2 separate regions of the Homo sapiens genome follow, and region 1 is linked to region 2. The links are contacts of gene promoters, found by promoter capture Hi-C in blood cells and fetal thymus (Javierre and others, 2016). All regions are on one chromosome and are shown on one strand. Each heading gives the region's core, a stretch centred on a gene start or on the middle of the fragment in contact. The rest is flanking DNA. Distances are from core to core; before and after follow the strand shown.

Region 1 (4,146 bases), core at 1-2,500, 460 kb before region 2:
TGGGAGGCTGAGGCGGGCAGATCACCTAAGGTCAGCAGTTCAAGACCAGCCTGGCCAACCAGGTGAAATAACATCTCTACTAAAAATATGAAAATTAGCCAGGTGTGGTGACACACACCTGTAGTGTGCTGAGATCGCAGTAAGCCGGAATCACGCTACTGCACTCCAGCCTGGACGACAGAGCAAGACTCAGTCCAAAAAAAAAAAAAAAAAAAAAAATTTTTTTATGACGCTTCAAGAACATAGTGAAACCCTGTCTCTACAACGGAATTAAAAATTAGCGCCGGGCGCGGTGGCTCACGCCTGTAATCCCAGCACTTTGGGAGGCTGAGGCAGGCGGATCATGAGTTCAGGAGATCGATACCATCCTGGCTAACACAGTGAAACCCCGACTCTACTAAAAATACAAAAAATTAGCCGGGCGTGGTGGCGGGCACCTGTAGTCTTGGCTACTTGGAAGGCTGAGGCAGGAGAATGGTGTGAACCCAGGAGGTGGAGGTTGCAGTGAGCCAAGATTGCCCCACTACACTCCAGCCTGGGCAAAAGAGCAAGACTCTGTCTCAAAAAAAAAAAAAAAAAAAAAATTAGCTGGGCATAGTGGTGCATGCCTGTAGTTCCAGCTACTCAGGGGGCTAAGGCAGGAGGATCACTTGAGCCCAGGAGTTCAAGGCTGCAGTACGCTGTGGTCACCCCACTGTACTCCAACCTAAGTGATGAGACCCTGCCTCAAAAAAAAAAAAAAAAAAATTTCTGAGACATGAATATATCTTTTTTTGTCCTAATGTTTTATAGAGGCTTCATTATTTATTATTTTATTTATTATTTTATTAGAGTCTTAGATGTAGTATTTTTGTTTTCACCTACCTATAATCTCTCTCATTTGACCCTTTCTGTTCAGCTTTACTAATTATGTTTTGTGCATGACACTGCCTGTTTCTAACCTTTTTTCATAAATCTTTCCTACTCTCTACTCTCTTATGCTCCAGATACCAATGAAATCCTTTTTAAGTACCGTAGTATAATTATGAAATGAATTACAAATACCAGGGCAATATATTCAGTGTAGTGATTTACTCTATATCAGTAGTCTCAACCAAAGGCCTCCAGGGAGGACACTTGGCAATATTTGGAGACCTTTTTAGTTGTCTCAACTGGGGTAATGGTAGGGGTGCTACTGCCTCTAGTGAGTAGAGGCCAGGAGGATGCTCCTAAATATCCTACAATGTGTGAGACAGCCCCAACAATAAAGAATTATCTAGCCCAAAGTGTCAGTAGTGCTGAGGTTGAGAAACCCTGCTCTCTATCAAAGGAGTGGTGTAAAACAGTTTCCTAAACTGTTATGTAAGTGGATCATTCAAGCATATTATAGTGAACTTTGTCTGGAGGTGCAGAAGAATTTTGTTACACAGAACTAAATAGTATTAAGTAATAATCCACAGCCCCTATCTATTGGCATCAGCAATAAAGAATTGATGATGACTGCAGCACATGTTGTACTACTAATATCAGGGACAATTTGAGAGTTTGACATGTTTATGCTTTCTCCCTTTTTATTTTTATTTGTTTGTTTGTTTTTGAGACGGGGACTTGCTCTGTTGCCCAGGCTGGAGTGCAGTGGTGTGATCTCGGCTCACTGCAACCTCTGCCTCTCGGGTTCAAGTGATTCTCTTGCCTCAGCCTCTCGAGTAGCTGGTATTACAGGCTCACACCACCATGCCCGGCTAATTTTTGTATTTTTAGTAGACACGGGGTTTCGCCATGTTGGCCAGGCTGGTCTCGAACTCCTGACCTCACGTGATCCACCTGCCTCGACCTCCCAAAGTGCTGGGATTACAGGTGTGAACCACCGTGCCTGGCCGATGTGAAATTTCTGATGAGGCAAAATTTGAACAGAACTAGGTTCCTTATGGAATGTGGAATTCTCTTTGACTTTTAAAAGGATTGTATCTAGCAAGTTAAATAGATGTATTTCCTCGAAGACTGTTAATGAAATCCCAGAACTTTGTTCTGATTGTGTCATCCACAGCCCTAGGTATTGACAGATTTATAACACAAAAGAGAGACTTCAGGCCCGGTGTGGTGGGTCACACCTGTAATTCCAGCACTTTGGGGACGGGTGGATCACCTGAGGTCAGGAGTTCAAGACCAGCCTGGCCAACAGGGTAAACCTGTCTTTCCAAAAAAAAATACAAAAAAATTAGCTGGGCGTGGTGGCTCACAGCTGTAACCCCAACTACTTGGGAGGCTGAGGTAGGAGAATCGCTTGAACCCGGAAGGCAGAGGTTGCAGTGAGCCAGCCTGGGCGACGAGCAAAACTCTGTCTCAAAAAAAGAGAAACTTCAGTGGGCAAAGGAGCAGAGTATGACTTGTTATGATTAAAGAGCAAACTTTTGGCTGGGCGCAGTGGCTCATGCCTGTAATCCTAACACTTTGGGAGGCCACGATGGGAGGATCACTTGAGGCCAGGAGTTTGAGACCAGCCTGGTCAATATAGCAAAACCCCTATCTCTATTGTTTTTAAGAATTTTTAAAAATAATTAAAAAAAAAAAAGATTGGAGAACAGTAATATTTAGTGGTGAGAGACAATTTTACCTATTACCAGAAATCTGAGTAGTATATCTATCTTAAAAAGATGTTCTTTTGAAGAAGTTATCCCAAAATATCTGAAAAATATGCTGAAATATCTTCTAAAAATCATATTACATTATTATATATCACATTCTAGTGTTTGAGGACTTCTGGGTTTTGTGAGAACAGTGATTACTAAGAATTAAATCAGGCTGGGCATGGTGGCTCACGCCTGTAATCTCAGCACTTTGGGAGGCTGAAGTGGGACAATCACTTGAGCCCAAGATTTTGAGATCAGCCTGCGCAACATGGTGAGACCTTGTCTCTACTAAAAATAAAAAAGTTAGCTGGGCATAGTGATGTACACCTGTGGTCCCAGCTACTCAGGAAGCTAAGGCAGATAAATCTTTTGAGCCCAAGAGGTTGAGGTTACAGTGAGCTATGATCGCACCACTGCACTCCAGCCTGGGTGACAGAGCAAGAGCCTGTCTCTTGAAAAAAAAAAAGGAAACTATTAGTAGGGATGAATTATGTGGCTAGGGAACTTTTTTTGGAATGAAACATGCCGATTTTTTTTTTTCTTCAGAAGGATCATAACTAAAGTAAACATTATTTCAGTTGTTTGGATATTACTGAATATTGGATAACAATAAAGACCATCCAACATTATTTAGAAATAAATGGCTTTAAAATGTTACAAGGATGGAGGGGACTTGAAATTCTTTAGGCCAAATCTGTTAGAATATGGGTTAAAATTGAAATTTTGAAGAAATGTTAATTGAAATATCACATGAAGTATTTTCTTTAATCATATAATTACTAAGGAACAATGTTAGTGTATTCAGTGACTAAAAGCTATAAATTTGGGTGAAATGTATATTAAAAATTTTTTTAATTAATTTATTTTTAAATACAGAGACTCACTTTGCCACCCAGGCTGGTGTGCAGTGGCAGAGTCATAGTTAGTTTACTGTAACCTTGAACTGGGCACAAGTGATTCTCCAGCCTCAGCCTCCTGAGTAGCTAGGACTACAGGCATGCACCATCATGCCCAGCTGATTTTTAAATTTTTTTTAGAGACAGAGTCTCTCTGTGTTTCCCAGGCTGGTCTCAAACTCCTGGCCTCAAGCCATCCTCCTGCCTCTGCTGCCCAAAATGCTAGGATTACAGGCATGAGCCACCGTGCCCAGCCAAAAGTCTTCATTTGTGACCAGAAATTGGGTAAATTTTTAAAAATATGATTGAATTTATAGAACCTTCTGTTATCTTTTTGTCAAATATTTTTCTAAAAAATTTTCTACAGGAGCAGTTTGCTTTGTTGAACTTCAGCCTTTGCCCCAAAGAATTCTTTCTCAGTGCTTCTGAGAAAGTTTTGACTGTCAGTGAACACAGTTAAATTCCATCATTGTCAATCTGGACTAAATAATCCTTGGATTTTCCACACTATAAAATGGGGATTGTGTGTTTTCTTGTGAAAGGACCAGTGTCCCTGGTGGTCTGTCTTTGTAAGTCTTTGTGGTGTATGTTTGTTATAGCTACATTTTACAACCAAAACGGATGGTTGAAAGCATTGTTTT
Region 2 (4,017 bases), core at 841-3,340:
TCCCAACTACTCAGGAGGCTGAGGCAGGAGAATCGCTTGAACCCAGGAGGTGGAGGTTGCAGTGAGCCGAAATCGTGCCACTGCAGTCCAGCCTGGGCGACAGAGCGAGACTCTGTCTCAGAAAAAAAAAAAGAAAAGAAAAGAAAAAGAAAGAAAGGGCCGGGAGCAGTGGCTCACGCCTGTAAGTAATCCTAGCACTTTGGGAGGCGAGGCGGGTGGATCACTTGAGGTCAGGAGTTTGAGACCAGCCTGGCCAACATGGCGAAACCTCGTCTCCACCAAAAATACAAAAACTAGCCGGGTGTGGTGGCAGGGGCTTGTAATCCCAGCTACTCGGGAGGCTGAGGCAGGAGAACTGCTTGAACCCGGGAGGTGGAGGTTGCAGTGAGCCGAGATCGCACCATTGCACTCCAGCTTGGGTGACAAGAGCGAAACTCAGTCTCAAAAACAAACAAACAAACAAAAAAAGGAAGGCTCGGCGCAGTGGCTCACACCTGTATGTAATCCCAGCACTTTGGGAGGCCGAGGTGTGACGAGGCCAGCCTGGCTAACACGGTGAAACCCCGTCTCTACTAAAAATACAAAAAATTAGGCGGGCGTGGTGGCACGCGCCTGTAGTCCCAGCTACTCGGAAGGACGAGCCAGGAGAATCGCTTGAACCCGGGAGGTGGAGGTTGCAGTGAGCCAAGATCGCGCCATTGCACTCCAGCCTGGGCGATAGAACGAAACGCCTTCTCAAAAAAAAAAAAAAAAAAAAAAAAAAGGAAAAAAGCACATATTATTTTACTCAAATTCCATTTTGGGAAATCTTTTCTTTTTGTTTTTTGTTTTGTTTTGTTTTTGAGACGGAGTCTCGCTCGGTCACTTAGGCTGGAGTGCAGTGGCGCGATCTCCTCTCACTGAAGCCTCTGCCACCGGGGCTCAAGCGATCCTCCCCCCGCCTCAGCTGCGGAGTTGCTGGGACCACAGACGCGAACTACCACGCCTGGCTTTTTTTTTTTTTTTTTTACCTTGTATTTTTAGTCGAGATGGCGTTTCGCCGTGTTGCCCAGGCTGGTCTGGAACTCCTGGGCTCTAGCAATCCTCCCGCCTCGGACACAAAGCGCCCGGCCTGGGGAATCTTTTCTACAGAAATAAAAGTACTACTTCAAAAGGATGTTTATTTTTATTGTTGCGCTATTTGTCGGGGCTGAGAACGGAAAACAATCTAAACAATCTAAACTATTCAGGTGTCAAAAATACAAGTTATTGGTTTTTTGTTTTTTTGTTTTTTTTGGTTTTTTTGAGACGGAGTCTCGCTCTGTCGCCCAGGCTGGAGTGCAGTGGCGCGATCTCCGCTCACCGCAAGCACCGCCTCCCGGGTTCACGCCATTCTCCTGCCTCAGCCTCCCGAGTAGCTGGGACTACAGGCGCCCGCCACCACGCCCGGCTAACATTTTTAGTACAGACGGGGTTTCACCGTGTTAGCCAGGATGATCTCCATCTCCTGACCTCGTGATCCGCCCGCCTCTGACTCCCAAAGTGCTGGGATTACAGGCGTGAGCTACCGCGCCCGGCCAAAAATACAAGTTTTACCTTTTTTATTGGCTTCAGGTAATGTCCACATGTTAAATGAAAACAACAAAAATCCAAATACAGAAACTCGTACATACAAGACTGGAAAATGAAGCTGTATTACCTGAAAGGAGCGGAGTGGTGATGGGGCAAGAGAGAATATTATCACGTTTTTCTTATTACATCTTGATAGCCTTTACAATTTGTATCACTTATGTAACAAAACAAACTCAAGTAAAACTGAGAGAATAAAGCTCTGAACCTATGAGCGTTTCCCTAAGTCTTTACACAATGAATATAGTAATGGGGCCACTAGTCGAGGGTGGTAGGAGCGGCGGAGACTCGGTAATATACTGGCCACGCCTACTCTGCCCTGCCAGTCTCTTCTCACGTGTGCCCCTGGAAGGCTCTGCCTTAACGCATGCGTAGTTACCTTAGTTTTCGTCGCCTCTGAGGGGCGCCCCGCGGCTTTGGATTTGACCCCGTCAGGCTACCGTCGCGGTGACCGGAACGGCACTAAAGGTTTGCTTCCGGGCGTTTCTTTTGCTTCCCCTTCCCTCTTTCACGCTTCCTCCCCTCCCCCTCCTCCCTTATCCCTTCGCTTTCGCTCTTTTCCGTCGAGGCCGACCCCTGAGTTGTGAGTCTGGGGTCTGGTTGGTGAAAAAGAGCCCTTGAAGCTGGAAGACGGGAGGTGCGGGGAATACTGTTGAGTTATTTGGTGACCAAAGGCTTATCTGGGACGTTTTGTTTGTGGGAGGGGGTCGGGCGAGGGTGGGAAGGAAGTCTTCCCCAGAGGCGAACGGGGGCGGGGCTGAACTGGGTTTGCGAATGGGTAGGACGCACCCCTAGAATGGGTAGCACGGGGGTGGGCTGGTGTGTGGGCAGAGGAAAATGGAGGCGCTGAAAATCAGATTTTCTTTAACCGTTTGATTAAAAAAGCAGTTCACACGAATGTGTGAAGTATTTGGATTGTGGATATTAGGTACCCACGTTTTATTCCCAGGTTGCTTTACTTCTCTGTACTTTGGGGGAAACCTTTTTGCTGCAAGCTTTCGTGTGTTTGAATATCATAGACTTTTTAAAAAGTAAAATTCCACATGGAAGCAAAGTAATATAAGGGGAACAAGTAATGAAAGAGAAAACACTGAGTTAGTGAGTTCCAAATCAACTCCATCCCCAGGTGGGGTTTTGTTTAAATTAGGCATAGCATACAAAGATTTATCACATTAGTTAAGGAACACATATAGACCACAAAAATATCTTATAGATTGGTTCTCTTCAGTATCCCAAAAGATTATTTTTAAAGTTCGGTTTGTTTTGAGACAGGGTCTCACTTTGTCACCCAAGCTGGAATGCATGGCGCGAACATAGCTCACTACAGCAGCTACTCCTGGGCTCAAGCGATCCTCCCACTTCAGCCTCCTGAGTAGCTGGAACTAAAGGCGTGCACCACCACACGTGGCTAATTTTTGTATTTTTTTGTAAAGACGAGTCTTGCCATGTTGCCCAGGCTGGTCTTGAACTCCTGCCCTCAAGCGACCCTCCTGCCTCGGCCTCTAAAAGTGCTGAGATTACAGGTGTAAGCCACTGTGCCAGCCCAAAACATTATTTTCAGTAGCTCTCTACTGCTTAATGAATGTTCTCCATGCCGTCTCAAACTCTTAAATCTTTTTCAGGAGTGTTAGCGTACAGCAGAAGATAAGAACTCTTAAAAATCTCAGCATCAGATTCTGGAGAATAGGGAGGGAGAACATGGAATATTTGAATAGAATAACAGGCAGCAGAGTAGGAATTAGTTTTATTAGGGAACTGAAATTCTCTATTGATTGATTGTAGTTATAAGGACTCCAATTTAATTTGTTTTCTGTTCCATGCAGAGGACAAAAGCATGTCTTCCCTTCCTGGGTGCATTGGTTTGGATGCAGCAACAGCTACAGTGGAGTCTGAAGAGATTGCAGAGCTGCAACAGGCAGTGGTTGAGGAACTGGGTATCTCTATGGAGGAACTTCGGCATTTCATCGATGAGGAACTGGAGAAGATGGATTGTGTACAGCAACGCAAGAAGCAGCTAGCAGAGTTAGAGACATGGGTAATACAGAAAGAATCTGAGGTGGCTCACGTTGACCAACTCTTTGATGATGCATCCAGGTGAGAACTCCATGGAAAATAGAAGGAAATCTCTCCATTGGGAGATGTTTTTAGAGAATAATTGTTCATGACATTGAACCAAGCATTTTATTTTATGTTTTGAGACGGAGTCTCGCTCTGTCACCCAAGCTAGAGTGCAGTGGAGTGATCCTGGCTCACTGCAACCTCCACCTCTCGGGTTCAAGTGATTCTCCCACCTCCCCCTCCCGAGTAGCTGGAATTATAGGCATCCGCCACCACACCCAGCTAATTTTTTATATTTTTAGTAGAGACAGGGTTTCACCATGTTGGCCAGGCTGTGTACCAAACATTTTA

Evidence for each region. The method cuts DNA at HindIII sites, captures the fragments that hold promoters and counts their contacts. A CHiCAGO score of 5 or more calls a contact.
Region 1: a fragment that was not itself captured here is called in contact with the fragment with the promoter of SETDB1 in region 2 in 1 of 17 cell types (naive CD4 T cells); the score reaches 5.5 in naive CD4 T cells.

The regions. Positions count from the first base shown.
Region 1 is chr1:150,465,816-150,469,961 of GRCh38, forward strand. The region is part of intron 10 of RPRD2 (regulation of nuclear pre-mRNA domain containing 2); the gene reads left to right. Among named protein-coding and RNA genes, the nearest start is that of TARS2, 20 kb to the right of the region's middle. The HindIII fragment of the contact is 7,293 bases long and covers 1-4,146 here.
Region 2 is chr1:150,924,273-150,928,289 of GRCh38, forward strand. It overlaps SETDB1 (SET domain bifurcated histone lysine methyltransferase 1), which reads left to right and starts at 2,091. Exons shown (of 22, transcript NM_001366418.1): 1 at 2,091-2,245; 2 at 3,432-3,702. The coding sequence starts at 3,443. It overlaps LOC107985204 (a long non-coding RNA gene), which reads right to left and starts at 2,069. Exons shown (of 3, transcript XR_001738231.2): 1 at 1,988-2,069. The HindIII fragment of the contact is 13,077 bases long and covers 1-2,601 here.